Regions from separate parts of the Homo sapiens genome. Here all the other regions are linked to region 3. Evidence: promoter capture Hi-C in 16 types of primary human blood cells and fetal thymus (Javierre and others, 2016). All regions are on one chromosome and are shown on one strand. Each heading gives the region's core, a stretch centred on a gene start or on the middle of the fragment in contact. The rest is flanking DNA. Distances are from core to core; before and after follow the strand shown.

Region 1 (3,836 bases), core at 619-3,118, 920 kb before region 3:
GCTTCATCACCACCACCACCACCCCCACCCCCACCATCACCACCATCACCATCCAGGCTTGAGAGCCCCTGGCTACCCCTCTTCACCAGTGACTACCGCCTCTGGTACTACCTTGCGGTTGCCACCACTGCAACCTGAGGAGGATGACGATGAGGATGAAGAAGATGATGATGACTTATCTCAGGGCTATGATAGCTCAGAAAGGGACTTCTCACTCATTGATGATCCTATGATGCCAGCTAACTCAGACTCCAGTGAAGATGCTGATGACTGAAGCCCCAGCATGGGCCCCATTGCTTGGGCGGCTGCTGTATTTTCATTTACTCTGGCCCTTGGACTATGGAAACGTGGGAGGGGCAGGGGAGATGTGGGGAAGTCCAGGACTCCAGGAGGTGAAAAGGAAAAAAAAAAAAAAATGTACCTGATTGCTCCCAATTATGAGAGGATTGGGTGGGCAGGGGAACTCCTAAAATAATACATGACCACTTCCTCATTTCTGGGGAAGGAAAGGAGACTAGAGCAGCTGGTGTGCTCACCCCTCCCTAGTCACCTCCATTAACCACAGACTATGTAGCGCTGGCCCTAGCCTCTGGCAGAGCCTGTTCCTGGCCGAACTGTGGATACAGCTGGAGGGTCAGGAACTGTTACCTTCTTTCCCCTTGGCATTAATAAATTTAAGTTAATCCTTTTCCACTCTTCCTTTGTTCTATGTTTGCTCAAACCCAGTGTATTGATTTTGAGTTGTTAATGGTGGGTAATTTCAGCACCACTTTCCTTAAGTTCAATACTGTTTATACTAAATTGCCTTACAGCAGACAAGTCATCTGTACTCCTCTAAAGGGTATATACAAATGTAGACTGTCCAGCTGGCTAAAGGCAAGGGAATTATTTAAGGTAAATGGTAGGTAGGCAAACTTCTGGATTCAAACTCCAAGTTTTTAGAAGAGACAGGGAGCAAGAATGTCATCAGGAACCATTTATGTTTTGTTTCTAATTAACTGAAGTAACGGTTATTTGGGGGAAGCCATAGAATAGTGCCAGTTTTCATGAACTGCAGCAAGGGGACTGGCCGACTGGAAGGATGCTGCCGCGACTTGGGCTCAGGGGGTGGGGTTGTGGGAAGGAACTAAAAGTTTGTAGAGCCCCTCAAGTCATCTGTTTCCTCTGACTTACACCATCCCACTGCTCAGTTAAAGCTTGCGCATATTATTTTCCTTTCGAAAACTAGGTTCCTCCCCCAGCTTGGGTCGTAGTTTATCACGAGGCTGGGCTCCATTTCCCTGGTATGAGTCCTCTGTCCCGGCGGAGCGCTTGACCCAGCATCCTGGCACCGAGGATCCCTCGAGTCCTGGAGCAGTCAAGGGCTTTTGCATTCCCATCATTTCTAGGAGGGGCGCATGCCCAGTTACACTGTAGTAGTCCCACTTTTATCCCACGCTAGATCCCGCTCTTTCCGCTCCCCCTTCCTTTGCAGATGGGGTGGAGCTATAACACCCGCGCGCGGCAGCTCTTGTGGGCGGGGCAGGCGCCGCCTCCTTCGCTTCGTCTAGGGACTGCCGCCTCGGCAAAAAGTCTGAGGTCCTGGAAACCGCCGCTGGGCTGAGAGTTAATAAGGGCGGAGGCAGACCGTCACGTGACGACGTCGATTCGCGTGCGGCAGTGGCGAAGTTGACAAACCCCGCGAAAATCGACTCTTTGCATCGCACATTTTGTTGATTTTCCCTCGTTTTTCTTTCTCTCTTTCCCCCGTCCATCCGAAAGAGGGTTGGAAAAAAACAAAACAAACAAACAAACAAAAAAAAAACCTAACGCTGTTGGGACCCGGAAGCGGAAAGGGCATCTTTGAGGTCGATACTTCCGGGTCATTGGGAGAGTGCGGGATTCCTGGGCCGAGAGCGGGTGGCTGAGCCGGGACCTCGCGTGATTCTCGGAACCCGAGGAGAAGCGGCGTCCGGGGCTATGGCTGTGACTCTGGACAAAGACGCTTATTATCGGCGAGTGAAGAGACTGTACAGCAATTGGCGGGTGAGGAAGATCCTGTAATTTTTCCTAGGGAGCCCCCTTAGCCATCCCATAATAACCCTGTTTCTCGGCGCCCTTTTTTCTCTTTCGGTCAGGAATTCCCGGGTTCTGTGCCTCACCCTTTTCGTTGCTCCCGAATCATTCACCGGAGGCGGCCACGAACGCTGCCCCTTAACAGGGAATCCCCCGCATTCACCCTGTCCTGCGGCCATCACCATCTTCCCCGCGTGCCAGCCTTGGTCATGCATAGCAGCACCTCTCGCAGTCTCTTCCCGCCCTAGAAGAGGCAACATCCTTCCCTCCTACTCCGTGGTCACGTCTTGCTGCCCTCCCCTGCCGTGTTCTCACGCACTCGCTCTGTCCCTCCAGAACCACAATATTCCACCCCTGGTCCCGCCAGGATTATAACCGTCTTCGTAAAGGAGAGATGGAAGGGCAAGGAGGATGTCAATCGGGCTTTTAGCGTTTATCGTTTGCGGGGCTTTTGCTGGAGTTAAAAAAAGAAATACTGCTCACGCGCAACCGCCTCATGTTCTAGGCCCTGCTGTGGGTTACAGAGAGGGACCTAACGCTGAAAGCCTGCAGGCATTAGTAATAACAAAACAAAACAAAACGATGCCTAAAACCTTATTAGTTCCTTGGTAGCGTATCCGGGGCACGTGTTCATTAAAAGAGCTGTGGCAGTTCCCAGTTTTTTAAAGATTCGGCAGTTTTGCTGCTCTAAAAACGTCCACAGTTAAAACTTATTTTTATGATGTTAACTTACTAATTGAGCAAACATTTGGTTGCATTCTGTGATGCAGTCTGAGTTGGCTAGCTTAAGTCTTGCCCCTGAACCCTGTCATCAAGGGAAGATACAGCTAATAAAGATTTTTTTTTAACCTGAAAAACGTTTTGAGAAAAATGATCAGCTCTCATTTCAGCATTGTAAATTATCTTTCAAACTGGTCATCTACTAAAACCAAGCCATTAAAATTGGTCGTTTCCTTGCCATTCATATTAAAGCTGTCTGTGCATGTTTCATCTTTTGGGGCTAAATACATTAGATAATTGAAAATAAAATTGATTCTCTTGCATTTTATGAAAAGGAAAAATAAGAACTAAATGCTAGATGAATACTGAACATTTTATTTTTTTTAATTTTTTGATTAATTTCTACCAAATGATTTTTTGCAGCTTCTCTCAGTGTCATATTATTCAAACATAATCGATGTTAGAAAAACATTTTAAAACCTTGATACTTTCTAATGATCAGTAAGTACTAAAAATCCGAAGCCCTCTCTTGTACCCATAAACCCTGAAACTGTGAACCTTTGGTATGAAAATTGTTTCTAGTCCCAGTGATTCAGATTCATCAAATAATTTCATTCTCTCTATACCATTCATGAAAACTAATCTATAGCTCTCACTTCCTCTACATGACAAATTAACTGTGGCCTGAAGACAGGTTGGCAAACCTAATAAAACTGATAGTCTTTAAATCCATGAAAGTTATTTCCCACCCACCATTTTTTTTTGTATCTCAAAAATCTTTAAAGTTTATCTTGGCCCTCTTACTACCTTAATGACATCATCTTGGGAGAATGTTAGATATTGATAAGACACTGATGGTGTAAAGTTATGAGCCAAATCTATGTAAAAATGTACCAGTTAACAAAACCTGTGGCTATTATGAAAAACTTACTTGAATAAGACTTTCTGCTTTTGTGTTAATGTGTCCAGAACCCACCTGTAGAAGTTCTTTGTGTATGCAGTCTTTTCACCCTACAGTGCTTTCATTCTGATACACTTAATCAGAGATAGTAGTTTTCTGG
Region 2 (3,827 bases), core at 705-3,204, 850 kb before region 3:
GTAAGTGTCATGTTTTCCTGATTGTAGATCTGATCTATTGCTAGTGTTCTCATTCTAGTTACCTACAACCCACAAAAGAATAGGATCAAGTGAGGGGATTAAAGAAATGATGGCTCAAGTTATCTTCTCCCAAACCAGAGGTAGAGGATGCCACATTTGAGAGAGCTCTTCAAGGTCCAGCCTACCTTTCTCCCTGGACAGCTCAAGTAAAACTTTTCTCTTGTCCTCCAGCTCAGCATCCAGCTGATCCTGCAGCTGAGAGACTTGCTGCTGTAGCTGTTCCGCTATGAGCTCGTTGCTCCAGTGGGGCTGACTGGAGCTGTCACTGCTGTCCAGCATGCTGGCAATGGAAAGCAAGCTCTCAGATGGATACCCCAAGGGGTGTGATATGACGTCTTTATTATCCAGTTTCAGCATCTCCTGGACCTAGTTCCTCATTCTCTCCCCTACATGTTTTTTTCTGCCCTTGCTTTATTCATAACTGTCATTTACCAACTGCCTTGGAACTTTTGAGTCCTACTGAGTTATTGCTCAGTACCATTTCTGTTTAGGTCTCAGATATCTGACTGAGCAAACACCCCAAGTCATATCCATTTCCCAAGGAACTTCTCCACCATGATGGCTTTCTTTAGTCAGGGAACTATGTATCAAGACCTTCTCAGGCCTGCCGGATTAGAAATGAGGAACAAAATCTTCCTTTTCTCAAACCCCATGCCTCCATCTACCTTCACCAACGGTGAGTTTAGAGAATATTTGTCTTTGACCTAGATTATAAATTACTATGCTGAAGGGCGGGAATTAAACTTTTCAACAACTGTATCCTCCACCCTATTGTATCAAGCTGTCAGAGCAGACCCATTTTGAGTATAAAATACACATGGCTGGTTCCTTTTTTTTTCTTTTTTCTTTTTTTTTTGAGACAGAATCTCGAGCTGTCACCCAGGTTGGAGTGCAGGGGTGCAATCTTGGCTCACTGCAACCTCTGCCTCCCAGGTTCAAGCGATTCTCCTGCCTCAGCCTCCTGAGTAGCTGGGATTAAAGTAACCCACCACCAGGCCCAGCTAATTTTTGTATTTTTAATAGAGACGGGGTTTTACAATGTTGGCTGTGCTGGTCTTGAACTCCTGACCTCAGGTGATCCACCTGCCTCGGCCTCCCAAAGTGTTGGGATTATAGGTGTGAGCCACCATGCCCAGCCACATGGCTAGTTCTTGGTCATTCATACAAATGAAATGACACTAATAATCAAACAATTATTTCTTTTTATGTCTTATTTCTTATTTATCATTTTAGTAAATGTGGTTTAAAAATAATTTACCAGGCTGGGCACAGTGGCTCACGCCTGCAATCGCAACACTTTGGGAGGCCGAGGAGGGCAGATCATGAGGTCAGGACTTCGAGACCAGCCTGGCCAACATAGTGAAACCCTGTCTCTACTGAAAATACAAAAAGTTAGCTGGGTGTGGTGGCAGGTGCCTGTAATCCTAGCTACTTGGGAGGCTGAGGCTGGAGAATTGCTTGAACCCAGCAGGCGGACACTGCAGCGAGCTGAGATCGTGCCACTGCACACCAGCCCAGGTAACAGTGTGAGATTCCGTCTCAAGAAATAAATAAATAACTTACCGGCCAGGCTGGATGGTTCCCACCTGTAATCCCAGCACTTTGGGAGGTCAAGGTGGGCAGATTATCTGAGGTCAGGGGTTCGAGGCCAGCCTGGCCAACATGGTGAAACCCCATCTCCATTAAAAATACAAAAATTGGCTGGGCGCGGTGGCTCACACCTGTAATTCCAGTGCTTTGGGAGGCTGAGGCAGGCAGATCTCGAGGTCAGGAGTTGGTGATCAGCCTGCCCAACATGGTGAAACCCCGTCTCTACTAAAAATACAAAAAATTAACCAGGTGTGGTGGCCGGCACCTATAATCCCAGCTACTCAGGAGGCTGAGGCAGAAGAATAGCTTAAACATCGGGAGGCAGGGGTTGCAGTGAGCCGAGACTGCGCCACTGCACTCTCAGCCTGGGCAACAGAGTGAGACTTTGTCTCAAAAAAAAAAAAAAAAAAACCACAAAAATTAGCCAGGCATGGTGGCACACACCTGTGGTCACGGCTACTTGGGAGGCTGAGGAAGGAGAATCACTTGAACCTAGGAGGCAGAGGTTGCAGTGAGCCAAGATCACACCAGTGCACTCTACCCTGGGCAACAGAGTGAGACTCTGCCTCAAAAAAAAAATAATAATAATAATAATAATAACCTACTTAGGCAAGTATTAACATTTCTTGGCATTGCCTGACCATATATCATGTAAGGACTCAAGAAAATAGTATTTTGAGTGATGAAGGGGAGAGGCAAATAGTAATGTCTATCACAGAGTAATGTCTATCGAAGTGGATACTCCCCACACTGCTTTATTTCACTGAGCTGAAGAACATCAGTTGTTCCCAGATGCTCCCGTAAGACCTCCTCAATCTACCCCCTGCTGCCTTTTACTAGATCAAAGGTACTTTTAAGTTTTTTGTTTTTTTTTTTTTTGAGACGGAGTCTGGCTCTGTCGCCCAGGCTGGAGTGCAGTGGCGCGATCTCGGCTCACTGCAAGCTCCGCCTCCCGGATTCACGACATTGTCCTGCCTCAGCCTCCCGAGTAGCTGGGACTACAGGCACCTGCCACCACGCCTGGCTAATTTTTTGTATTTTTAGTAGAGACGGGGTTTCACCGTGTTAGCCAGGATGGTCTCGATCTCCTGACCTCGTGATCCACCCACCTCGGCCTCCCAAAGTGCTGGGATTACAGGCATGAGCCACCGCGCACAGCCTGGCACTTTTAAGTTTTAAAAACTTTTTTCTTTTACTTACAGGTTTTTTTTTTGTTTGAGAGTCTCACTTTCTCACTGCACTGCACTGCACATGGCTCAATGCAACCTTGACCTCCTAGGCTCAAACAATCCTCCTGCCTCAGCCTTCTGAGTATCTGGGAATACAGATGCACGCCACCATGCCCAGCCAAATTTTTTTTTTGAGACAGAGTCTTGCTCTGTTGCTCAGGCTGGAGTGCAGTGGTGCAATCTCAGCTCACTGCAACCTCCACCTCCCGGGTCCAAGCAATTCGCCCTGCCTCAGCCTCCCAAGTATCTGGGATTACAGGCCCCTGCCACCACGCCCAGCTAATTTTTTGTATTTTTAGTAGAGACAGTGTTTTGCAATGTTGCTCAGGCTGGTCTCACACTCCTGTGCTCAGGCAATCTGCCTGCCTTGGCCTCTCAAAGTGCTAGAAGTACAGGCATGAGCCACTGCGCCCAGCTGCCCGGCTATTTTTTTTTTTTTTTTCGAGACAGAGTTTTGCTCTTGTTGCCCAGGCTGGAGTGTAATGGCCTGATCTCAGCTCACCCCAACCTCTGCCTCCTGGGTTCAAGTGATTCTCCGCGCCTGGCTGGCTAATTTTTAAAATAATTTGTGGAGAAGGGGTTTCATCATGTTGCCCAGGCTGGTCGTGAACTCCTGAGCTCCAGCGATCCTCCTGCCTCAGCCTCCCAAAGTGCTGGGATTACAGGAATGAGCCACCATGCCAGGCCACTTCCAGTTCTTTTTAATTATAAAATTAATGCATGAATACATGCTCATTGTGAAAAATTAGAATAATACATCAGCATATAGAATAGCCCAGGGTCGGTGGCTCATGCCTGTAATCCCAACACTTTGGGAGACCAAGGCAGGCAGATCACTTGAGCCCAGGAGTTTGAGACCAGCCTGGGCAATCTGGCGAAACCCTGTCTCTGCACAATATAGAAACTATTAGCCGGGTGTGGTGGCGTGTGGCTGTGGTCCCAGCTACT
Region 3 (3,885 bases), core at 382-2,881:
CTTGAGCATCTGTGTGCCACAAACAGCAGAAAAAGCAGCAGACTGGCCTCCCTCTATGGAGCTACAACCTCTTCCCTATTTTGTATCTGGAGCTTCCTTAGTTCTTTAAGTGTCTGTTAGGGGCTCTTATCTAACTGGTCGAAGGTTACTAGCTTCCAAGTAGAAGTTGGCCTGAGAAAACCCTGTCTAAAAAAATCAGGACCTAGGTGAAGTCTCCAGCCCCTGTAGCAGCCAAGTGCTGGGACATCTGCAGTTCCTTTGTTATTACATATTTGGGGCTGGCTGTACTTTCTTTGATGCACTTCCTTTCTTAGTGGAGAGTCTGCTAGCCAAACTGATAATGGACCTCCTCGGGGTTTATTGTTTTTATCAATTCCTTGTTGCTTCCCATATTTAAAGCAGTCCCAGTTTGGGCTATGACTTGGGAAAAAATCCAGGTGTGGTTCAGGCGCCCATAAAGACCACACGAGACTTCAGGTAGGGGAGGAGGCACTGCCCCTTTGCTGGAAGCAAAGTTGAGACAGGCCTAAAGACTGTCCCATCTGTCAAATAAGGTGACGAAAATAACCTTGTATTTGATTAATCCAATCTACAAACTTGTGCGTATGTTAAAGGTTGGTGGTCATAAAACTGAGTAAAGGCACGGTGGCTTGTCCCTGTAGTCCCAGCTACTGGGAAGGCTTAGGCAGGAGATCAAACTCAGGAGTTTGAGTCCAGCATAGGCAAGACCCCATCTCTATTGAATTTTTTTTTTTTTTTTTTTAGTAAAACGATGAAATCTTCTAGTAGTGGAGACACTAATGAAAAGATAATTTAACAATTTGATCAGCAATGGGGAAAGACGGGGCTCTGTAAGGACAGCTTCCAGGAAAACCCAGTCTTGTGTCCTGTCCTGAAAGTGACTCTAGCGACAAAGGCTGGAGTGATAATCTTAACTTTTTAATCCATTTCCTTCTGGTACCTCATTACTCTGACTTTTTAAAGGTACTTCTTTGAGTAGAACAGCTAACTTTGTCTACTGTTCCCCACCGTCCATTTTCTCCCCGCTCAGAAGATCCCAAGCTTCCGCACTCCTTTATTGCACCCGCCCAGCCTCCTTTAAAATGCATAAGCCACGCCCCCCATGTTCTGGCGCTAAGTTCGGGCCAATGCAGTTGCGCCGCTAGGATCACAGGACGAAAGAAGTAAAGTCACCAGCCAATAGGAAACCAGCTACAACGCAAAGCCGGAGAAAAGTGTTTTAGTGGTGTCTTTGAACCAATGAGGAGCAGAGCAACAGGGACCGTGCAGCTTCCAGAAACACGTGACCAGTTGAGCAGACGCAGCCTAGCCCTACCTCCTGGTCTGGAGGTAGCGCGATGGGCGTCGCTCCCAATAGCTTGCAGAACCTCTAGTCACGTGCAGGTTTTGCAAGCCCAGCAGCATCTGGCAGGTCATGTGACAGTTGACGTTTGTGCGTCGCTCCCCAATGGAAAAGGAGAGCTGCCTTCACAGGACCAGGAATTGGTTTATCTACGCGAATAATAGCATGACCCGGGCGGGGATAGCCTATCACGTGCTGCTAGACGGAACGGGGCGGGGCAGGCCACTGGTTGCGGAGTGAGCTGGGCGCGCGGCGCGCAGGCGCCCTGGGGACCCGGTAGCGGCGGTGGCGGTGGCGGCGGTGGCGGTGGCTGCGGCGACGGCAGAGGCGAAGGGAGCCGGATCGCCGACCTGAGCGGGAGGCGGCGGTGGCGGCCATGGCGGCAGATGGAGAGCGTTCCCCGCTGCTGTCTGAGCCCATCGACGGTGGCGCGGGCGGCAACGGTTTAGTGGGGCCCGGCGGGAGTGGGGCTGGGCCCGGGGGAGGCCTGACCCCCTCCGCACCACCGTACGGAGCCGGTAAACATGCCCCGCCCCAGGGTAAGCCGGGGCGGGTCCGAGGTGCTCCCCGGGGTACTCTGAAAGCCGGGGAGGGGGCGGGACCGAGGGCGGAGGCGGGTCCCAGTCGCCAGGTGCGGGACTGCTGCACCTGTGACTGGGCGAGGCTTCCTTCCCTCCGTAATCGCGACCACAGCCTAGGGACGGAAGGGGGTTCTGAGCAACCTGATAGAAGTGCCAATTATGAGAAGCCCTCCGAGCTTGGTCAGAGGGTTGAAGATCAGAAGGACTTCCCTACCACCGTGGAGCATCAGTGGGGGTGTAAGTGATCCCAGCCCTTCTATTTGCTTCCTCTCCAGCATTTCCCCCGTTTCCCGAGGGGCATCCAGCCGTGTTGCCTGGGGAGGACCCACCCCCCTATTCACCCTTAACTAGCCCGGACAGTGGGAGTGCCCCTATGATCACCTGCCGAGTCTGCCAATCTCTCATCAACGTGGAAGGCAAGATGCATCAGCATGTAGTCAAATGTGGTGTCTGCAATGAAGCCACCGTGAGTTACACATATCTATGAAATGGGCCCTGTTTCCTGGATCCTCTTTCTGATGTCTTGGTTCTAGACCCTGACCTTCCGGCTATTAGCCAAGTGCTTTTGATGATACCCAGGTTTCAGTTCCAGGTGTCTCACACAGCCATTTCCCCAGAAGCCACTCACCAAAGCTAATGTTCACTTTCTCTCACTTTTACACCTAGCCTAGTTCCTATTTGCAAATCTCATGATATAGTCTTTCTTTTATTTCTCCTTCCTGGTTAGCACCTTATTTTTCTGATCTCATAAAGTGTTTTTGGAGGGAAGTGGAGGGGATTGGGATTAGAGGTTTGCTTGCTGATGACCCTATTATTCTCTAGCCAATCAAGAATGCACCCCCAGGGAAAAAATATGTTCGATGCCCCTGTAACTGTCTCCTTATCTGCAAAGTGACATCCCAACGGATTGCATGCCCTCGGCCCTACTGGTAAGAGGCATAAGGTGGGGAAGGGCCTAAGTGGGGAACTGGAAAGTCAAAAAAGGATGAGCGTATACAGAGAATGTAAAGGTGAGAGAGCCTAGTGTTTATTTAGGAGAAAAGGCTTTGAAGCATGTGCCTCAGGAATGTTATAGCTGTCTTTCTCGTTTCTCAATAAAAATATTGAGATGAAATGATGTCGTTTCGGAGAATAGAGAGCCTTGGGGACTGGGTGTGTTATCCTGAGGTCGGAGGGGAATTGGGGACCTGAAGTTTAAACAGTGCTCTTTCTTTCTCAAGGATTCTTGAGGGTATACAGTTGGGGGACAGAGTATCTTAAGTACAGAGAAGTCGAGTGACTTAATAGACAGGGAGTGGGGGATGTGGAACAGGGACTGTGAAGATTTTTAGGATTAAAAATTTTTCAAACACAAGTTTGAAAATACAAGTCTTTTTCTTTTGTATAGCAAAAGAATCATCAACCTGGGGCCTGTGCATCCCGGACCTCTGAGTCCAGAACCCCAACCCATGGGTGTCAGGGTTATCTGTGGACATTGCAAGAATACTTTTCTGGTGAGGAAGGGGTATTGGGAAGGGGAGGGGAAAGGAGACTAAGAGTCATTTCGAGTATATTTCTTAGAGTAATGGTAATGACCCCTGAAAGGTCTGTCCTATGGGAACATGTTCTGCATCCCCACCCCAAGGTTCTCATTGAGGGAGACCCTGCTTGTGCTATTATTTTTGTTTTCTTTCTCCATAGTGGACAGAGTTCACAGACCGCACTTTGGCACGTTGTCCTCACTGCAGGAAAGTGTAAGTGATTAGGGATTGAGCTGGTAATTGATGTATGGAGTAAAAACTACAAGGCCATAGAAAGCATCCATTTCTATTTGCCTCCCCACAGGTCATCTATTGGGCGCAGATACCCACGTAAGAGATGTATCTGCTGCTTCTTGCTTGGCTTGCTTTTGGCAGTCACTGCCACTGGCCTTGCCGTGAGTACCCTTGCCCCAACCTCTTT
Region 4 (4,352 bases), core at 1,053-3,552, 610 kb before region 3:
ATCCAGGGGAACTGCCTGTTTGAGGGGTGGTTACCTGAAGTTGGCTCAAGGCAGGAATGAGTGCTGGAGGCAGTGGAGGTGCCTGACGAAGGTCCAGCAGGACGGACAGCCCCAGTGTCTGTAGATCAGGCCTGCGGGAGCAGGAAGAGCCAAGGAGGCTGCTGTGTGTGTGTTTTGGGGGATAGCAGATAAGGCAAGGCAGACATACGGGGTCTGTTTTTAGTTAATAGTCCTGAGGAGAAATTAGTTGCCGGTACATTTGGGAAGAAATGGGCAAAGGGCCAAATTCTGGGGTGTGTGTACAAGAGGAAGTCACCTAGCAGTCAGGGGTCTATATTCATATGGCTACTAGGTCAAGGGATTAAGGTCTGGAAAATTAAGAATTCTGTTCTGAAATGGCGTGCATTCAATATCAGCCTGTAGTATGGTGCCTAATAGGTACTCAGTGCTCAATAAATGTTTGTTGAATCAGTGAACCAATGTCCTGATGATCTTGGTAGGGTTGGAAGAGAGTGAAAGTCAACAGTGTTGCTTTTGAAGATCAGTGAAGATATGAAGCTGGAGGTCAGGGTAAGTAAGGCCAAAGGTCAATGGCTTGAAGTCTGAAGGTTGAAGAAGTAGGTGTCCTTAGAGGTCAGAAGGTCAGTGTCCTGAGAAGAAGGAGGTGAGGGTCCTCATGAATCAGGAGGTTAGTGTCCAGGGTGCCAGGACTGGGCCTCGGTTACCTGAGCAGTGAGTGGAGGTAATGAAGAGTTGTGTTCAGCGTGTCTCGGGAGGGTGGGGGCTCCTCAGGAGGGCACGGTGGGGTAATGGTCAGCAGAGCTCGCCCACTCTGGTCCACCCCTCCTGAAGACACAAAATGGCCAGGCTGTCCTGGCTGGGAGCAGTCCATGCCTACCTCCTTTCCACCCTGCCTCCCCCAGTCCCCAAGCCCACCCAATTGCTTCTCTTTCCCAGTCCTGTTTCCCTTCACCCACTGATGCCCACTGACCCGTCAGGATGAGGAATCCAGATGCCATCAAGTCCCAAGCTACATCAGGGTGATCAGAGACGGAGACTGCAAGGGCCTCTTCTGGAATGTTGTCCCCTTTTCCTTCCTGCACAGTCTCCAGCGGAGGTGTTGGAGTGTCAGACAGGGGGCCTTCTGGGCCTGTGTGTCCTGCACAGACACAGACAGAAACATGGGACTGAAGTTAAGATGGTTCTGGTTGTTCTGCTCCCAGCCTAACCCTGCTCCTCCTCCTGCCCCCTCCCATAGGCCCGACCTGCTTTGGCCCTTGCCCCATGAGCCTCACTCCGTGTCATCTCACCTGCCATACACAGCAGGCCTGGCCCCTCCAGCTCTCTCTCTCCGGCCCCCTCTTCTGTAGGCCCACAGGCTTCAGAGAGCTGAGGCTCTTTCTCGCCTGCTGTTTTGAGCTCTTTTGGCTCAGATTCTGGCTTCCCTGAGCCTTCATATTCCTCCTTAACCAGGTGGCATTCTGGAAGCTTGTGCTCACTTGGTGAGGGCAGATTGCCAAGGGCTTCTTGGTGGCTGGCATCTTCCTTGTCCCCAGGGCTCAGTGGGGCACTGTCCCCTCCTCGGCTAAGAGCCCCTCGACCTGCAGCTCGCTTCTTTCTTCTGTTTCCTTTGCCTGTTCTCCGAGGGGTACCAGGTGGTCCTTCAGCCCCCTGGCCTCCTCCTCCTCCTCCTCTAAGCTCCCCTGGCCTCAGGGGGCAAGATCCGGAGGCTTCTCCCACAGCCTCTGCTGGGGGCTCAGACACCTCCAAGACTGCTGCCTCTGGGACAGCCTCAGCTCCTGGGGGAGACTCAGGGGAGGCTCCGGTGCTGCTCCCCTCGCCGGGTGGGCGTGCTCCATCCTGGCCCCGAGGCCCCAGGCCCTTCTGGTGCATCCACGCCCGGTGTCTCCGGTGGCGGCCCTTCCCTCCAGCGCCCTTGCGGGTGGGTACCGTCCGGACTCTGGAGAGGCCTGGGGAGCCTTCAGCATCTGTTGGGCTCCCCCTCACGGGCAGCGTCACCTCTAACAGCTCCACATACTCGCCCTCAGGTCCTTCCACAGGGGCATTGTGCCCATCCCCAGGACTCCGGGTACCCAGCGCCTCCTCAGGAAGTGGAGGGCTGGGAAGCCCTGGAGGTCCAGAGGGCAGTTCTGGGGGCAGTGTACTTGGCTGATGTCCAACCATGAGGCCCTCTTTGTGCACAAATCGTGGACAGATGAGCTCAGCCCAGGGCAGCCGCTGAATCCCAGAGGGCGCAGACAGTAGGCAGGTACTGAGGCGACCTGTTGGCCGGTCCTTGTTGATGCCTTGTAGCCACTCAGGTGTGAATAGGTAGGCACAAGCCTCATTGGGCACAGGAACCTCCTGCACCCGCCCACCCCCAGGGGCCAGACACTTGAGTGCTAGTCGGGGTGCTTGGGCAGCTGAGGGCACCACCTGCAGATAGAAGTCTCCTGGGCGCAGCAGTTGCCAGGGTAGGGCTGCTAGCTGCACCACCACCTGTTCATGCAGGCAGAGCGGCCACCCCTCATGGAAGAAGAGGAATCCACTGTATTGGGCCTGGGGAGAGAGGTGGGAGGCTGCACTCAGGCCTCTGCTGAAGAAACCAGCAGGAGAGGGCAGTTAGAATGGGCCCACCCTAGGCAGGACCAGCCTTATGCCTGGAAGGTTATACTCTCAGGAGAGCAGGAGGGGAGATTTGGGGTATTCAGGTGGCAGAGAGGAAGGGATTGGGACTGATCGGTCTCCCAGTAGTAGGAAGATTCTTCAGGAAGCTAGTTCCATGTGTGGGAGGGTAAGAACTGAATCGTTACCAAGACATGGTCAGCAGATGCCATTGTCTTGGAGAAGCTAAAGACTCTTAGGAGTCTTTATATCTGTAGAAATGAATGATCTCTGTTGACTAATGTACGGGGGAGTTAGTGTCTTGAGAAATTCATATGAGGGGGAGAAGATGTCTGGAATTGGGTCTGGAGAGTTAGGGTCTTTGGGGGTCAGTATTGGGGTCAAGATGAATTTGGGGAAGATGAATGTGTGTGTGTGTGTGTGTGTTAGCATCTGAATGGTCAGTGCCTGTGAAGGTCAAAGTTTGTGAGAGGTCAGAGAATGAAGCTTAAGTGATTCTGGAGAGATCGGTTTCAAGGGAGGCTGTATCTCTAGGTTAGTGGGGGCATTAGTCAGCCTGGCTAGTCTGTAGAGTGTGGCAGTGGATCTTGGGGAAGGCAGAATAGTGATGCACGGCCACTCACACAGGCTTCCTGCTGGACCTTGGCAAGCAGGTGCTTGGCTGGTACCAGGAAGTCCAGCGTGTACCTCAGTGCGTCCTCCCGATAAGTCCTCTCCACCACCTGGAACACCTGGCCCAACAGGGTGGGGGCTGTTGCCTCAAAGGGTGGATACAGGGCGGCGAGAGTGCTCTGCACACAGTCCTCCACTGGCTCAGGCTCCTGTAGAGATAGGACCAGGCTACAGATCCCTAGAGATCACCCAATCATGGCTCCTTGGGAGCTGCACTGGTCTGGGGTTGGCTGTGTTCTCCAAAGCCCCGATTGTACAATGTGGGCAAAAAGTGAGCACTCAGGAAATGCTGGCTGATGAGCCCAGAACAGGAGTGGGGCTGGGCCAGAGTGCACAAACCTGGCAGGGCGCTCAACACTCCCGCTCTGAGACCTTGGCTTTGGAGATCCAGGGAGAATTTGTTGTGAATGCCCCTGATCAGGGCTGTTCCGGGTGCTCGTGAGTTGGGGTGATTGCATAGATCTTTCCCAGGAGAGAAAAGACAGGCTTCTGGGCTATCAGGGGACTGAGCTTATGGCTGAGAACTCGAGGGGATGAGGGAGATTTCCACACAGCCATCCTGCAAATCCCTTCCCATAAGACCCACCATCCAGGGCTCCCCATCTTAGGTGGAGGTGCCATCACCCACAATTATGTCCCAGAGATGATCATTTGGTGAAAGAGAGATGCTCATTTATATGCTAGAGATGGTCATTTGGTGGAAAGAGGAGGATGGAAAGACTGTCTGTGACTGTCTTGGGTCTTTCTAGCATCCCTCTTCCTTCTCCCACAGTGGCTCTGAAGCAATCACCCAATCTTAGAGCATGTGGGATTGGATTACAAAGAATCGGGTGGGGGCAGTTGAAAGAGAAAAAAGTCACAAGAGGAACTTGTGGGAAGGGAGGAGGAGGCCTTGATGGTGCGCATTCGAGCTGATCTTTTCTGATTCCAGTGGGACCTCTCTCTGCCAACCTCCACTAGGAGTCTCAAAAAGACTCAGCCCTGCTTCATCCAGACTCCCCTCCCTAAGTGAGTCAATGAGACGTCTTTCTCCAACTCCTAACCTAAACAACCAC
Region 5 (4,010 bases), core at 140-2,639, 800 kb before region 3:
ATGAGTTTTTATTGGGTGTATTAATGAGCAAAATCAGTCTGAGTAAGATAGGTTGAGAACTGATGAGGCTCCAGGAAATTACTAATTATTTCTGATACCTTGTTGGGTCATATAATGGCTTTCTGATTTGGCAGAAAAAAGTAGCAGGACATTAATTTATGGAAGTATTCTAAACACTTGACTATGTCCAACACTGTTAAAGTTGTGAGTTTGTGTTAACTTAATCATCATCAAAACCTTGAGTAGGAGTAGATACTGTTATTCATGTTTTAGAGGTGAGAATATTGGAGTACAGAATTTAAATAACTTGCCTAAAGTTAAACTGCTTTAGTGGTTTAGCATGGATTCAACCCTGGGATTAAGGGTGCAGATTTCAACACTTAATGATAGTAGACTCCTTTCGTCACTTTGATATGTTGAACTTTTTTTTTTTTTTGAGACATAGTCTCGCTCTGTCACCAGGCTGGAGTGCAGTGGCATGATCTCTGGCTCACTGCAACCTCCGCCTCCTGGGTTCAAGCGATTCTTGTGCCTCCGCCTCCTGAGTAGCTGGGATTGCAGGCATGCACCACCACACCCAGCTAATTTTTATATTTTAGTAGAGATGGGGTTTCACCATGTTGGCCAGGCTGGTCTAGAAATCCTGACCTCGTGATCCGCCCACCTCGATTTCCCAAAGTGCTGGGATTACAGGCGTGAGCCACTGTGTCCGGCTGAGCATTCTAGAAAAACAGATTTTAGTTTGGTTAAAGTTCCAAAGAACAACTTTGGACTTTTATTATTAAAATTTTAAAACTAAATATGTTTATATTTTTGCCCTTGATTTCCCAACACCTTAAATGGCTTAAAGATGTGTATATGTGCAAGGTAGTTAATGTTTAGGTAGATGTATCTTGGTAAAATGTTACCATGGTTGTGATGGCATTGTTAATAGGGAAGCAAGCACATTTTAAAAGTGAGCTTTAGGCCAGTTGCAGCAGTTTATGCCTATAATCCCAGCACTTTGGGAGGCTGAAGTTGGAGGATAGCTTAAGGCCAGGAAAGTCTGGCAACATAGCAAGAGCCTGTCTACAAAAAGCTGGGCACGGTGGCACACAGCTGTAGTGTAGCTCCCTGGGAGGCTGAGGCGGTAGAATTAATTGAGTTCAGGAGTTTGAGGTCAGTGTGAGTTATGATTGCGCCACTGTACTCCAGCCTGGGTGACAAGAGTGAGACCCTATCTCTTAAAGTAAAAAAACAAAAGTGAGCTATCTTTTTTTTTTTTCTAAGACTTATAAAACCGAAGTGAACTTCAGTTAGAAAAAAATTATTTGTGGTTAAAAAAGAACCACGGAGACGGATGCATTAACTAAGCCCAGGGGTCCTTTTTCAATCCTCATCTCACTTGACCTGTTGGTTCCATTTAACCAGATCTCTTCCTTGAAACGTTTTTATTTTTTTTTTACTTTGCTTCCAGGTTTTTGTTACATGTTTCTGTTACATGTTAAACTTCTTTCTGTTGGAGTGCCCCATGGTTCAGTCCTTCCACTTCTCTTTTCTGTCCACACTCTGGGTCCAATTTCATTCAGATTCATTCATGATGTAATATACCACCTATAAGCTGATTTCGACACTTAAGATCAACAGCCTATACTTTTCTTTCGAATGTCATACCAATTCAGTTTACCTGCATGACAACTCTGTTGAATATCCAATATGTCAACTTAAAAGTGCAAAACTGTGCTCCTGATGTTCATGCCTCAAACCAGTCTCTTGTGTACTGTTGCCTTTTTCAGTTAATGAAACAATTTTTGTGTCTCTTGGGCCAAAGATTTTGGCTAGCCATCCTTGACTTTTACTCTTCTCACCTTTGGCCTATTAGAAAATCATGTTGGCCAGGTGTGGTAGCTCAGGCCTGTAATCCCAGCACTTTGGGAGGCTGAGGGAGGCGCATCGCTTGAGCTCAGGGGTTTGAGACCGGCCTGGGCAACATGGTGAAACCCTGTCTCTTCAAAAATATACAAAAATTAGCCAGGAGTGGTGGCAAGTGTCTGTAGTCCCAGCTACTTGAGAGACAGGCATGAGAATCGCTTGAGCCCAGGAAGCAGAGGTTGCAGTGAGCCGAGATCGCACCCGCACCATTGCACTCCAGCCTGGGTGACAGAGCAAGACCCTATCACAAAAAAAAGAAAGGAAAAAATGCTGTCAGCTCTTCAAAATATACCACTACTCATACTGTCGACACTTGGTCCAATTTCAAGCCACCCTTGTCTCCTGTGCATTATTATATATAATAGGTTTGTATTTCTTTTGTCCCTCCCCACTAGTTTTGTTCTTAAAAGTGATAGCTAGATTGATCCTAAAATGTATTGTTTGAAGGATTTTTTTTTTGGGGGGGAGATGGAGTTTTGCTCTCTTTGCCCAGGCTGTAGTGCAGTGGTGCGAGCTCGGCTCACCGCAACCTCTGCCTCCCGGGTTCAAGCAGTTCTCCTGCCTCAGCCTTCCAAGTAGCTGGGATTACAGGCACCAGCCACCAAGCCCAGCTAATTTGTTTTTTATTTTTAGTAGAGACAGGGTTGCACCATGTTGGCCAGGATAGTCTCGATTTCTTGACCTTGTGATCTGCCCGTCTCTGCCTCCCCAAAGTGCTGGGATTACAGGCGTGATCCACCACGCCTGGCCATTGAAAAATGTTTTGCCTGAAAACAAACAACCTAATGGCTGCCTTTTTCAGCATTGAAGTCAAAAATTTTTCTGTGATTTACAGGGCATCCCACGTGATTTGTTGTGTCCCTTCCCTTGCTGTTAATATACTGTGCTTCAGCCACACTGGCCTTCTTAACTGTATTGAACACATTGGATATGTTTCCACTTTAGGGCTTTTCCTTGGAATTTTCTCTGACTCATACAGTTTGGTTCCTCAGTTCCTCTGAGACTTTTTACTCAGAAGCTACCCCCTTAGTGATGTGTCTTCCCTTATTTAGCGCTTTAAGCTCCCCTTCTCCTAAATACTCTTTAGCACTTATCACCAACTGTAGAATTTGTTTTTTTCTATGTAAAGACATAAGAGATATGTCCAGAAATACATATGCCAAACAATTAACATTGATTGCCTCTGGGCAAGAAGTGGGATTTAGGAGATTTGAAACTTGTGTACTATGTGCTTAAGACTATTATAATGATCAATGTGGTAGTATTTTCCTTCTAATTAAAAAGCTTAAAAATGTACATCAACTCTTGTGATTCTGTGTGGGCATAAATAGCATAGCTAGTCTGTGTAATAGGGGTTTAGTAAGCAGTGTTAATAGTTGAAGAAACTGCTTTAAAAGGTTTAGCTGTGATAGAGTCGAGTTAGCATTTGAGCACATAGACTACCGTGTTGCCTGTATCAACATTTGGGAGAGCTTGACCATTTTAAAAATATGTATTCTCTACTGAGAAAGCATGGCTATTTGTAAGAGGTAGAGTGAATTAGAGAACTTTTTTTTTATTATTTCTACCTAATCTGATTCTGACTTTACCAGTCTGAAATATTCTTCCTGTTTTCTAATTATATTGACCTATGGCTCCTGAGTTGATTTTAAAACTGAAAAAACTCCAGGAGTTCATTGAACCAGATTTAGGCTTTTCTGGCTAGTCTTGAATAACATTTAGGAGTTTAGTAGAGTACATTTTGAACAAAAATTTTCCTCCAGTCCTCTAACTAAAATAGGTATTCTGAAGAGGATAAACTATTCATAATGCATTGTCACTCCCTATATTGATCCTTTAAATAAAATCTTCACATAAGTGGGTTTTCTAGCTTCAGAGCGAGAAGAAAAGTTTTCTCATGCTATTACCCTTAAGTTTGTGGAATTCATGCTAGAGTTATGGCTATGCTGTTTAAAATGGAGTTTTTCTGGTTTTTTTTTTTGTTTTTTTTTTGAGACTAGAGTCTCGCTCTGTTGCCCAGGCTGGAGTGCAATGGCACGATCTTGGCTCACCGCAACCTCCGCCTACCGCAACCTCCGCCTCCCGGATTCAAGTGATTC
Region 6 (3,769 bases), core at 1,104-3,603, 650 kb before region 3:
AACTTGAAAGCATTTCATCTTTTGAAAGGTGTTCAGTTTCTATTTTTCAGTCTAAAATTGGCCTCTCTATAACAAGTAACCACTGGACCCAGTTTCACTTCTTAGTTACGCAAAGAACAATTTCTTTTCATCATAATTATCTTTGAGGCTTATAAAAGCATAAATTCTCTTTCTCCTGTGCTATGACTTTAGCTTTACATAAAGAATAAGAGTGGGCCGGGCGCGGTGGTTCATGCCTATAATTCCAGCACTTTGGGAGGCTTGGTTGGGTGGATTGCTTGAGCTCAGGAGTTGGAGACCAGCCTGGGCAACATGGTGAAACCTCTTCTCTACAAAAAATACAAAAATTAACCAGATGTAGTGGCATACATCTGTAGTCCCAGCTACTTGGGAGGCTGAACTGGGAAGACGGCTTGAGCCCAGGACGCGGAGGTTGTGAGCCAAGGTCGCGCTACTGCACTCCAGCCTGGGGCAACAGAGCCAGACCCTCTCTCCAAAAAGGAATAAGAGCGAGCACATAGCATTTTCTTTATATATAAAGAGAGCATATAACGAGGCAAAGCAAATAAAATTATATTTTAGTAGTTTGGACTTGGGTAAAAACAAGAAAACTTTATGGATGGCAAGGGAAAACTGTCAAGAATCAACAAAGAAAATTCATTAACTCTGGACAGAAATTAGGAAAAGCTTCTGATAAGAAAAATAAACCAAAGATTCAGATGCTAAGTGGAACCAAGAAAAGTAGGCAACACAAAATATAAATGAAATAAGTCAGAAAAAAAAATAGGCAAACAAGGAAAAACATAAAAGAAACAGAAGATGATAGTAAATGGCACCTGAATTTTAAGGAGAAGCCAGCCTAGTAGCAATTTACCTGTAAGTATGGCTGTCTCTGGCCTGAGGCCGTAGGAAATTATATGAGCAGGCCTTTCCTTCTGAATTATTATAATGGGGACATCAGGTTAAAGCAAACACCAAAAGCAGTCTTCTTCTTCTTCCACCTCCTCCTCCTTTCCTTTCTCCTTCCCCTCCTCCTCTCTTCCTCCTCCTTTTTTTTTGAGAAGGCTGGGATTAGGGGTTATGGGAGCTGGGTGGAGTCAGGAGAGGGGGCTAACAACTAGGGGAAAGTTGTATGAATTTGTTAGCAATGGGAAGATTTTAACTATATAGGTATATATATAGTTATATATATATACATATGTGTGTGTGTGTGTGTGTGTGTGTATACACACATGTTATCACAATGAAAAAAATAGCAACTAAAAACATTTTCCTGCCTTCCCTCCTGTGCTCACTGCTTAGTCACCAGCAGCAGCAGCCCAGGTCAGGGCAGTATCTCACATTCCCAGTTCCCTGGAGATGGACCTCTGATCACTGTAGTACATAGATCCTGTCATATTTATAGGAAACACAGTGACTCAGTGAGAACACCACTGCCACTGTCCCGCCAGCCCATTAATCAAATGTCAAATTTGAGGCAGCACTGGCTGGGCCCGCCAGGATGAAGGGTGTGGACGCAGAGCAACACACCCTTCTGTTTTCTTGTCTAGACCCATTTTGTGTGGGCCTAGAATCCAGAAACCTGTTGGGAGACTCTTCATTTCTTACTGAAATTAAGAGCATCCCAGTCCCAGGTGGCAAGGGGCAAGAGACTGCATTCTTCAGGCCAGGCAGGCGCGGTCAGCTTCAATTACCCCTGGGTAGTTGGGTTCACTGAATTTGGTGGCTCCTGGCCAGGACTGCATAACAGACACAGAGGCCCAAGGGTTTGCAGAAGACCAGGAGGGGCCCTCCGCCTCCTGCCTCATTGTGAGGCCCAGGTTTCCAGCCAGGCCGAGTGTGCTGCTGCCCTCAGGGGCCCATTGCAGAGGAGGAACTTGGGGAGCGCCCCACACCATGGAGAGGAGAGTCTTTCCCCAACTAAGCCACTGCCAAATGCCATTACCTTAGGAAAGGCACTTTGTGAGACCTCAACCTGGGCAGCCAAGAGGCCACGAGATGGCAGCAGAGGACACAGCCCTGGACACAAAACCTGAGCCATCTTGCCAAAAGGCAGATTCAGAAACGGAAAAGAGTTCATTTGTGAAATACTGTCAGTTGTCTATGATCACGTATTAAAAGCCAGAATAAATGACAGAATTTCAAAGAAATGAGGGTAAAATGTATTCACATGGAGAATTTCCCGACCACCAATGTGCCACAGCTGCATATGAAGCCACATATCATGAACTGGATTTCTTTAATGTTTAAAAGAATAGATAGGGGTCACGGCCTTTAAAAACTGACGTCAGCAGAAACCTTGTCAGTTTCTTCTTTCAGTGAAGTTCCCATTCAAGTAAAATGAGTGACCTCCACAGAGGCTGCCAAACTGATGAAGAAAGAGGCAGATACAGTGGTTGCTGGGAATCACTGCAGCAAAGCAGAACGCTGTCATGGAGCAGCCCGGGACTGTGGCAATAGGCAGTGTGGAGGGGGAATAATGAGGAACACAGGACAAGTCTCCAATAGTCTTTGCTTGCAGCTGGCAGAGGATAATGCACAGGAAAGCGGCATTAGCAGCACTGGAACTAAATCCCAAATCTGACTTCTCATCTACTGCGCCTTCCATTGTTACATATTCCCTCCTCCCCCACTCCTCAGTTGTGACTAACAAATATGTCTCCAGACCTTGCAAAATATCCTCTGGGGAACGAAATGACCTTTCTCTGAGAACCAATGCCCTAGAGGGATATGATGAAAAAGGTTTTATCAGAAAGGTTTTAAGAATTTAATATTTAATCGAAGACTCTTGGACTTTGCAAGGTCTACATGAACTGTAACATATATCCAAAACCTGAATTCCTACTATGTTTATCTAATGCAGACTGATGATTGAAGAACTATAGCTGAACTGGCTCTTGAGTTTTAAGAAATTATCATTTAAACTACTTCTTACCTCTACAGGCAATTTATTTTTAACCCCTGAAGTGGTTTATAGTTTTAAAGTACTTTTCCTTGTGTGATTTTATTTTAGCCTTGATACTCCAGTAAGGTAGACAGAATAAATATTACCATAACCTCCAAGTGCACAAAATGTAGTTCAGAGAGGTTTGACTTGCCCAAGCAACAAAATTAGAATCTAGGTTTCCTGAGTCCCAGTCCTATTATTTTTTTGAGGAAAAATTTCTAGTAAGAACTTAGGGGTTCATGAAACCAAACCAAAGAAGTAGGTATGGGCATAACTGCTGGAACAGATAAATTTCAACTGCTAAGCTGTTCAAAAATCATCACAAATTATTAATTCCATTTCTTTTTTTCTTTTTGAGACAGAGTCTCGCTTTGTCTCCCAGGCTGGAGTGCAGTGGTGCGATCTTGGCTCACTGCAACCTCTGCCTCCTGGGTTCAAGCAATTCTCCTGCCTCAAACTCCCGAGTAGCTGGGATTACGGGCACCCACCACCATGCCGGCCTAATTTTTGCATTTTTAATAGACACGGCCACCATGTTGGTCAAGCTGGTCTCGAACTCCTGACCTCAGGTGATCCACCCGTCTTGGTCTCCCAAAGTGCTGGGATTACAGGCCTGAACCACCGAGCCCGCCCAACTATGTTTCTTTTAATGAAGTATTTCTGCTTCCCCTCTCCTTGCAGGCATTGCCCTTCTGGCCTTCCTTAAGTTGGGTGTGGCTATATGACTTGCTTTGGCCATTGAATGGGTGGAAGTGACATGAATGTATCACTTCAGGGCAGCATTTAAGAGTCCATGAACAATTCTTCATGCTTACTTCACAT
Region 7 (4,313 bases), core at 1,672-4,171, 580 kb before region 3:
CCTTTAATCATCCTTTCCTTACTTTCTCTCCTCATCATCTCAGACAACCTGGCTGCCCTCCCAGGACTCTGCCTGCGGGCTTGTCCTCTAACCCACTCATGATCATCACTCTGGCAGAAGGAAGTCTCTCGGGAGACCTTAGTGGGGGTATTTGCCTTGGTCTGCGTGTTTTCCAAAGATGGATATTGCTACTACTAGTTATGATCTAACACCTGTCAGTACTTGGGGCTGACAAGCGTTTCATAGATAGCATTTCCACATCTTTACCTGGAATCCTATTTGGCAGGTAGGATTCCTCACATTTTGCTGTAGAGAAACAGACAAGCCAATTGTTCGAGGTCATGTAGACGGGAGTCAGGATTTACACCTGATTCTGTCTGGCTCCAAAGCTTACTCTGACTCTGGTCAGTAGTAAAAAAGCACAGGAGTTGATGGGGAGGGATAGGTAGAGTGGAATCCTCAGCAGGGTTGGGAATGTCTTATAATGAATTTGGGTTTGAAATAGAACAGGCATGGGACACAATGCAGCTTGTTTGGGACTGAGATAAAGGAAGAAAGAAGGGGATGGTGCTGGTCAAGCAATGTTGGAGAGACCATCAGGACTGGCCAATACCAAGCCATACCTTCTCCAGCTCCAGTCCCCAGAACGAGAGAAATGGTATCTGTAGCCCAGGGGGACAGGGAAATGGCATTTTCGCATCTCAACCCCTCAGGCCTGGGCAGACTGCCAGAGTGGAGAGCCAGGGTAGCAATGAGGCAGGGGAGATCATTATCAGGAGGAAGGAAGCTCTGGCAGCTCCCACCAGCCTGTTTGTGACAAGCAGGCTCAGGGCCACGGAAGTCCCTTAAGGTCAAAGGAAATGTGATCCTGGATCTGGGGGATGAAGCTCAGACACTCCCTTTACCTTATGTCTTCAGGCCAAGGGGATCTGGCCAGAGCCAGGTCCAGGGCCTAGGTTGGAAGAGCAGTGGTCTAGAGAAACGGGAGGGGCAGTTAGAGAGGAAGAGAGAGAAGGAATAAAATGCCAGAGCACCTCATAAACAATCTCTTGGCTAGAGAGGTAATGACCTTTATTGCAGCCAACACAGGGTAACTGGCTCTTCAGAGCACTCGTTTCTTCATGAGTGAACTCTTACCTAGTTCACCGCTTGCCTCTGTAACAGTGACTTCTTTCTTGCGCAACTGGTAGAGTAGAAGGTACACTGTATTTAGAGCAAGGAGACCTAGGTTCAAGTCCAGGTTCTGCTACTAACTAATTAGACAAGCTCTTTAATTCATTAAGCTTTCTAAAACCTTAATTTCCTCATCCATAAAGAAGGCATACAATCCCTGTCAAGTCTATGTCACAAGGGATTAGAGGATTCTATACAAATATGAAGTGGTATTTATTTATATTTTTCTTTCCTTCAGGTCACCTCACTGCCACGTCAGAGCTGGGGAAGACTTCTAGTTCAGGAACAGAAACAGCTGTGTCCACAAATCCCATATGCCCCCTTTCCATTTATTTCCTCTCCTTGTCATGCTGCCCTAATGCCAGGGGGCAGGGGAGACATGTGCAATGGCATAGACCAGGGAACCCACAGACCTGAGCTTGCTGTTTCTTGGGGATAAGCATCTGGGAAAACAGCAACAAAAAGATGAAAAGCCATCCCTCTAGAGCTCAGCTCACCAGAGTGTCAGCTTCAGCCTCCCAGCAGAGGCTGAACCAGGAACAGCCCCAAGAGATGAGGGGAAGAGAATGCTCTGGGTGTAGGGGAGTGGTGCGGAGTCCTGGAGAGGGAATTGAAGGTCAGCCAAAGAGCAAGCCAGTCTGGAAACCTAAAGGACTCTGTCCAAGTGTACAGGAACCAGGTGGAATTGCTGAGAGTCCTTTTTCTGGGGAGGCTTACAGGCCACTACGTAAGACTTGTTCTGTCGCTTCTCTTTGTACCTGCAGTTCGGATGCTTCCCTGAGGTGAGCTTACACATGGTCAGGGACACGGCCCCGTGGCTCTGGTGGCAGTTTTTATCGCCATTCTTGCAGGCTATTTTGGGGGTCTGGCAGGTGGCGGCCACACTGGAGAAAGGCTCGTGCAGGAAGGTGTTGAGGTCTTTGCACCGTTTTGTGTGCTTGTTAATGTTTTTCATGGCTGAGTTGCATGCTTGAGGGCTGGGCTGCATGTGCTGAATTTTAAACCACTGTGATGAGGTCATGCCCTTGGGCTTGGCACTGACTGGGATCTCTGCCACCCACAGCCCCAGCAGCAGAAGCAGCAGAAGGGGGCAGAATCCTGCTCTGGCCGGTGCCATCTCTCTTAGGAGGAGCAGTCAGGATGGAGGGCAGGGGTCGCTGGGACAGAGGTGTTCAGTTGAGAAATTAGTCCTCTTATACCTGCTCATATGAGCTAGTCACCCATCTCCCTACTCGGTTGTCTCCTTTCCTCACTTTGTGTCTCATCTCTGCCTCTTCTTCTGTGTGTCCACATCCACTGCAGCCCCAACAACAACCCTGTGGCCCCATCTCTCATCTTGTATTTCTGTTCCCTTCATTCTGTCCCTGTTGCCTGTCACTCTTTGTCCTCTCCCCTTTCCCTTAAGTCTCATCCCTTTTGTGTCTCCATGTTCCTGTGTCTGTGTCTCATCCTCTCCCGATTCCCATCTCGTCTGTGTTCCCATTCTTTTTCATTTTTTGCCTCCATCCCCAACATCACTCTCCCCTTTCCCCAATGCGTGTCCTCATCTCCCCTAAATCCAGTCCCTCCTTTATCCATTTTATCGCTCACCTGAGTGTACTCTCAGGATCAGAACCCATCCCTCCTTCTCTGTCCTCACTCCTCCCCAGATCCTGCCACAGCCTCACCTTTGCGCTTGGTCTTCGTGCTGTGACTCCTGCTCAGTGGGCTGAGGTGGTGTCCACGCACTCCTAGGCTGTCAGATCTCTGAGGGCCTCTTCTCACTCCTGAACTCCTTAAGAGCTGGCCCGGGCTACGCTGTGTCTGTTTGGGGGTGGGCTGGGAGCATCACTGGATCAGGAAATGAATCAGGTTCATGCCTCTCCACTTACATGTCCCAAATACGTGGACACCTAAGGATGCCTGTACCTGCCTAAACATGTTCAGCAATGAGGAAGCTTGAATCGTCACATTCGAAGACTGTATTTGTTCCCTGGCCACATGATTTTAATGACTCTTTAATAGAGCACCTGACCCAGGTGTCAACTGAAATCAATTTCAGGAAGAGTTGTCATTCATATCCTCTCATATACACTTCTGGCCCTTGATCCTGGGAAGAGTCAATCACTGTGGTGTTAAGGGTTGCTTCTTCTCTGACCTGAGGCACAGATAGGACAGCCTAGAAAGATGCTTTGTCTGGTTCCTTGTCATCTGGAGATACTGGTTATCTTTCGGAGGAGATGGAACAGACACGAGGGAAGTGGGTGAATGAATCATCACTGTCACGAGGCCTGGCACCATCCCCAATAGCGAAGCCATTCCACAATGATTCACAGGCCTCTCCAGTTCCAGGTACCAACCAAGGCCACATGGCTTTAGCTGGAGAAGGCAGCCAACACCTCTCAATTTCACTTGTTCCCTCCCTTTTTTATTGAAAATTGCAAAAATTTAATACTGCCCAAATGTTTGTGTTTAAAATGCTGTTGCTGCTCTCGACATCCTGCCTTAGTGCTTCCTTCACCTTGTATGTCCTGTTCCTTGTGGTGGTTACAGCTGTGTGGAGCATCTGGGTCAGTGCTACTCCAAGCTCTTGTGAGCTTGGAATATGACACTCAGGAGAACCGAGACACCAAGGCAGAGAAGCATCACCCTCTGTGGGTGAGAAGGCCTGTAAAACTGAGATGAGGAATATTTTTGTTTTCAGAATTTACCTGTAAGTAGTAGGCAATCTCAGAATCTTGGGCATGCTTCATTCATGTGGTCAACAAACATTTATCGAGCATCTACTAAGTGTCAAGATACTTGGGATATATCACTGAACAAAAAAGGCAAAAATGGCCAGGTACGGTGGCCCACACCTGTAATCCTAGCACTTTGGGAGGCCATGGCAGGAGGATTGCCTAAGGCCACGAATTCAAGACCAGCCTGGGCAATGTGGCGAAACCCTGTCTCTATAAAAAATTTGAAAAATTAGCCAGGCATGGTGGTGCATGCCTGTGGTCCCAGCTACTCCAGAGGCTGAGGAGGGAGGATTGCTTGAGCTTGAGAGATAAAATCTGCAGTGAAAATCATGATTGCACCACTGCACTCCAGCCTGGGTCACAGAGTGAGACCCTGTCTCAAAAAACAAACAAACAAACAAACAAACAACAACAAAAAAC

Evidence for each region. The method cuts DNA at HindIII sites, captures the fragments that hold promoters and counts their contacts. A CHiCAGO score of 5 or more calls a contact.
Region 1: the fragment with the promoter of SUPT16H here is called in contact with the fragment with the promoter of PIP4P1 in region 3 in 1 of 17 cell types (monocytes); the score reaches 7.3 in monocytes.
Region 2: a fragment that was not itself captured here is called in contact with the fragment with the promoter of PIP4P1 in region 3 in 1 of 17 cell types (monocytes); the score reaches 6.0 in monocytes.
Region 4: a contact is called between a fragment that was not itself captured here and the fragment with the promoter of PIP4P1 in region 3, in 1 of 17 cell types (neutrophils). The highest score is 7.3, in neutrophils.
Region 5: a fragment that was not itself captured here is called in contact with the fragment with the promoter of PIP4P1 in region 3 in 1 of 17 cell types (monocytes); the score reaches 5.8 in monocytes.
Region 6: a fragment that was not itself captured here is called in contact with the fragment with the promoter of PIP4P1 in region 3 in 2 of 17 cell types (fetal thymus and monocytes); the score reaches 6.9 in fetal thymus.
Region 7: a contact is called between the fragment with the promoter of RNASE7 here and the fragment with the promoter of PIP4P1 in region 3, in 1 of 17 cell types (M2 macrophages). The highest score is 5.0, in M2 macrophages.

The regions. Positions count from the first base shown.
Region 1 is chr14:21,382,051-21,385,886 of GRCh38, reverse strand. SUPT16H (SPT16 homolog, facilitates chromatin remodeling subunit) reads left to right here and starts at 1,868. Exons shown (of 26, transcript NM_007192.4): 1 at 1,868-2,025. The coding sequence starts at 1,960. It overlaps CHD8 (chromodomain helicase DNA binding protein 8), which reads left to right. Exons shown (of 38, transcript NM_001170629.2): 38 at 1-688. The coding sequence ends at 274. LOC107984643 (a long non-coding RNA gene) reads right to left here and starts at 1,614. Exons shown (of 2, transcript XR_001750627.2): 1 at 1,174-1,614. The HindIII fragment of the contact is 3,293 bases long and covers 1,199-3,836 here.
Region 2 is chr14:21,314,209-21,318,035 of GRCh38, reverse strand. RPGRIP1 (RPGR interacting protein 1) reads right to left here. Exons shown (of 25, transcript NM_020366.4): 11 at 186-340. Among named protein-coding and RNA genes, the nearest start is that of RPGRIP1, 36 kb to the right of the region's middle. The HindIII fragment of the contact is 7,906 bases long and covers 1-3,827 here.
Region 3 is chr14:20,459,180-20,463,064 of GRCh38, reverse strand. PIP4P1 (phosphatidylinositol-4,5-bisphosphate 4-phosphatase 1) reads left to right here and starts at 1,631. Exons shown (of 7, transcript NM_144568.4): 1 at 1,631-1,881; 2 at 2,220-2,410; 3 at 2,767-2,873; 4 at 3,332-3,437; 5 at 3,625-3,677; 6 at 3,769-3,859. The coding sequence starts at 1,740. RefSeq lists enhancers at 967-1,046, 379-1,344, 1,347-1,416, 1,345-2,311 and silencers at 1,537-1,946, 2,007-2,176. The HindIII fragment of the contact is 6,669 bases long and covers 1,065-3,885 here.
Region 4 is chr14:21,072,139-21,076,490 of GRCh38, reverse strand. ARHGEF40 (Rho guanine nucleotide exchange factor 40) reads right to left here. Exons shown (of 24, transcript NM_018071.5): 2 at 3,249-3,446; 3 at 1,311-2,559; 4 at 992-1,159; 5 at 726-846; 6 at 35-131. Among named protein-coding and RNA genes, the nearest start is that of ARHGEF40, 4.0 kb to the right of the region's middle. The HindIII fragment of the contact is 1,623 bases long and covers 1,491-3,113 here.
Region 5 is chr14:21,254,816-21,258,825 of GRCh38, reverse strand. All of the region lies in intron 2 of HNRNPC (heterogeneous nuclear ribonucleoprotein C), which reads left to right. Among named protein-coding and RNA genes, the nearest start is that of HNRNPC, 13 kb to the left of the region's middle. RefSeq lists an enhancer at 3,579-4,010. The HindIII fragment of the contact is 3,616 bases long and covers 1-3,197 here.
Region 6 is chr14:21,105,265-21,109,033 of GRCh38, reverse strand. No RefSeq gene overlaps it. Among named protein-coding and RNA genes, the nearest start is that of TMEM253, 6.1 kb to the right of the region's middle. The HindIII fragment of the contact is 3,328 bases long and covers 690-3,769 here.
Region 7 is chr14:21,040,970-21,045,282 of GRCh38, reverse strand. It overlaps RNASE7 (ribonuclease A family member 7), which reads right to left and starts at 2,921. Exons shown (of 2, transcript NM_032572.4): 1 at 2,841-2,921; 2 at 1,050-2,330. The coding sequence starts at 2,290. The coding sequence ends at 1,820. It also overlaps a transcript of NDRG2 not described here. The HindIII fragment of the contact is 1,827 bases long and covers 1,286-3,112 here.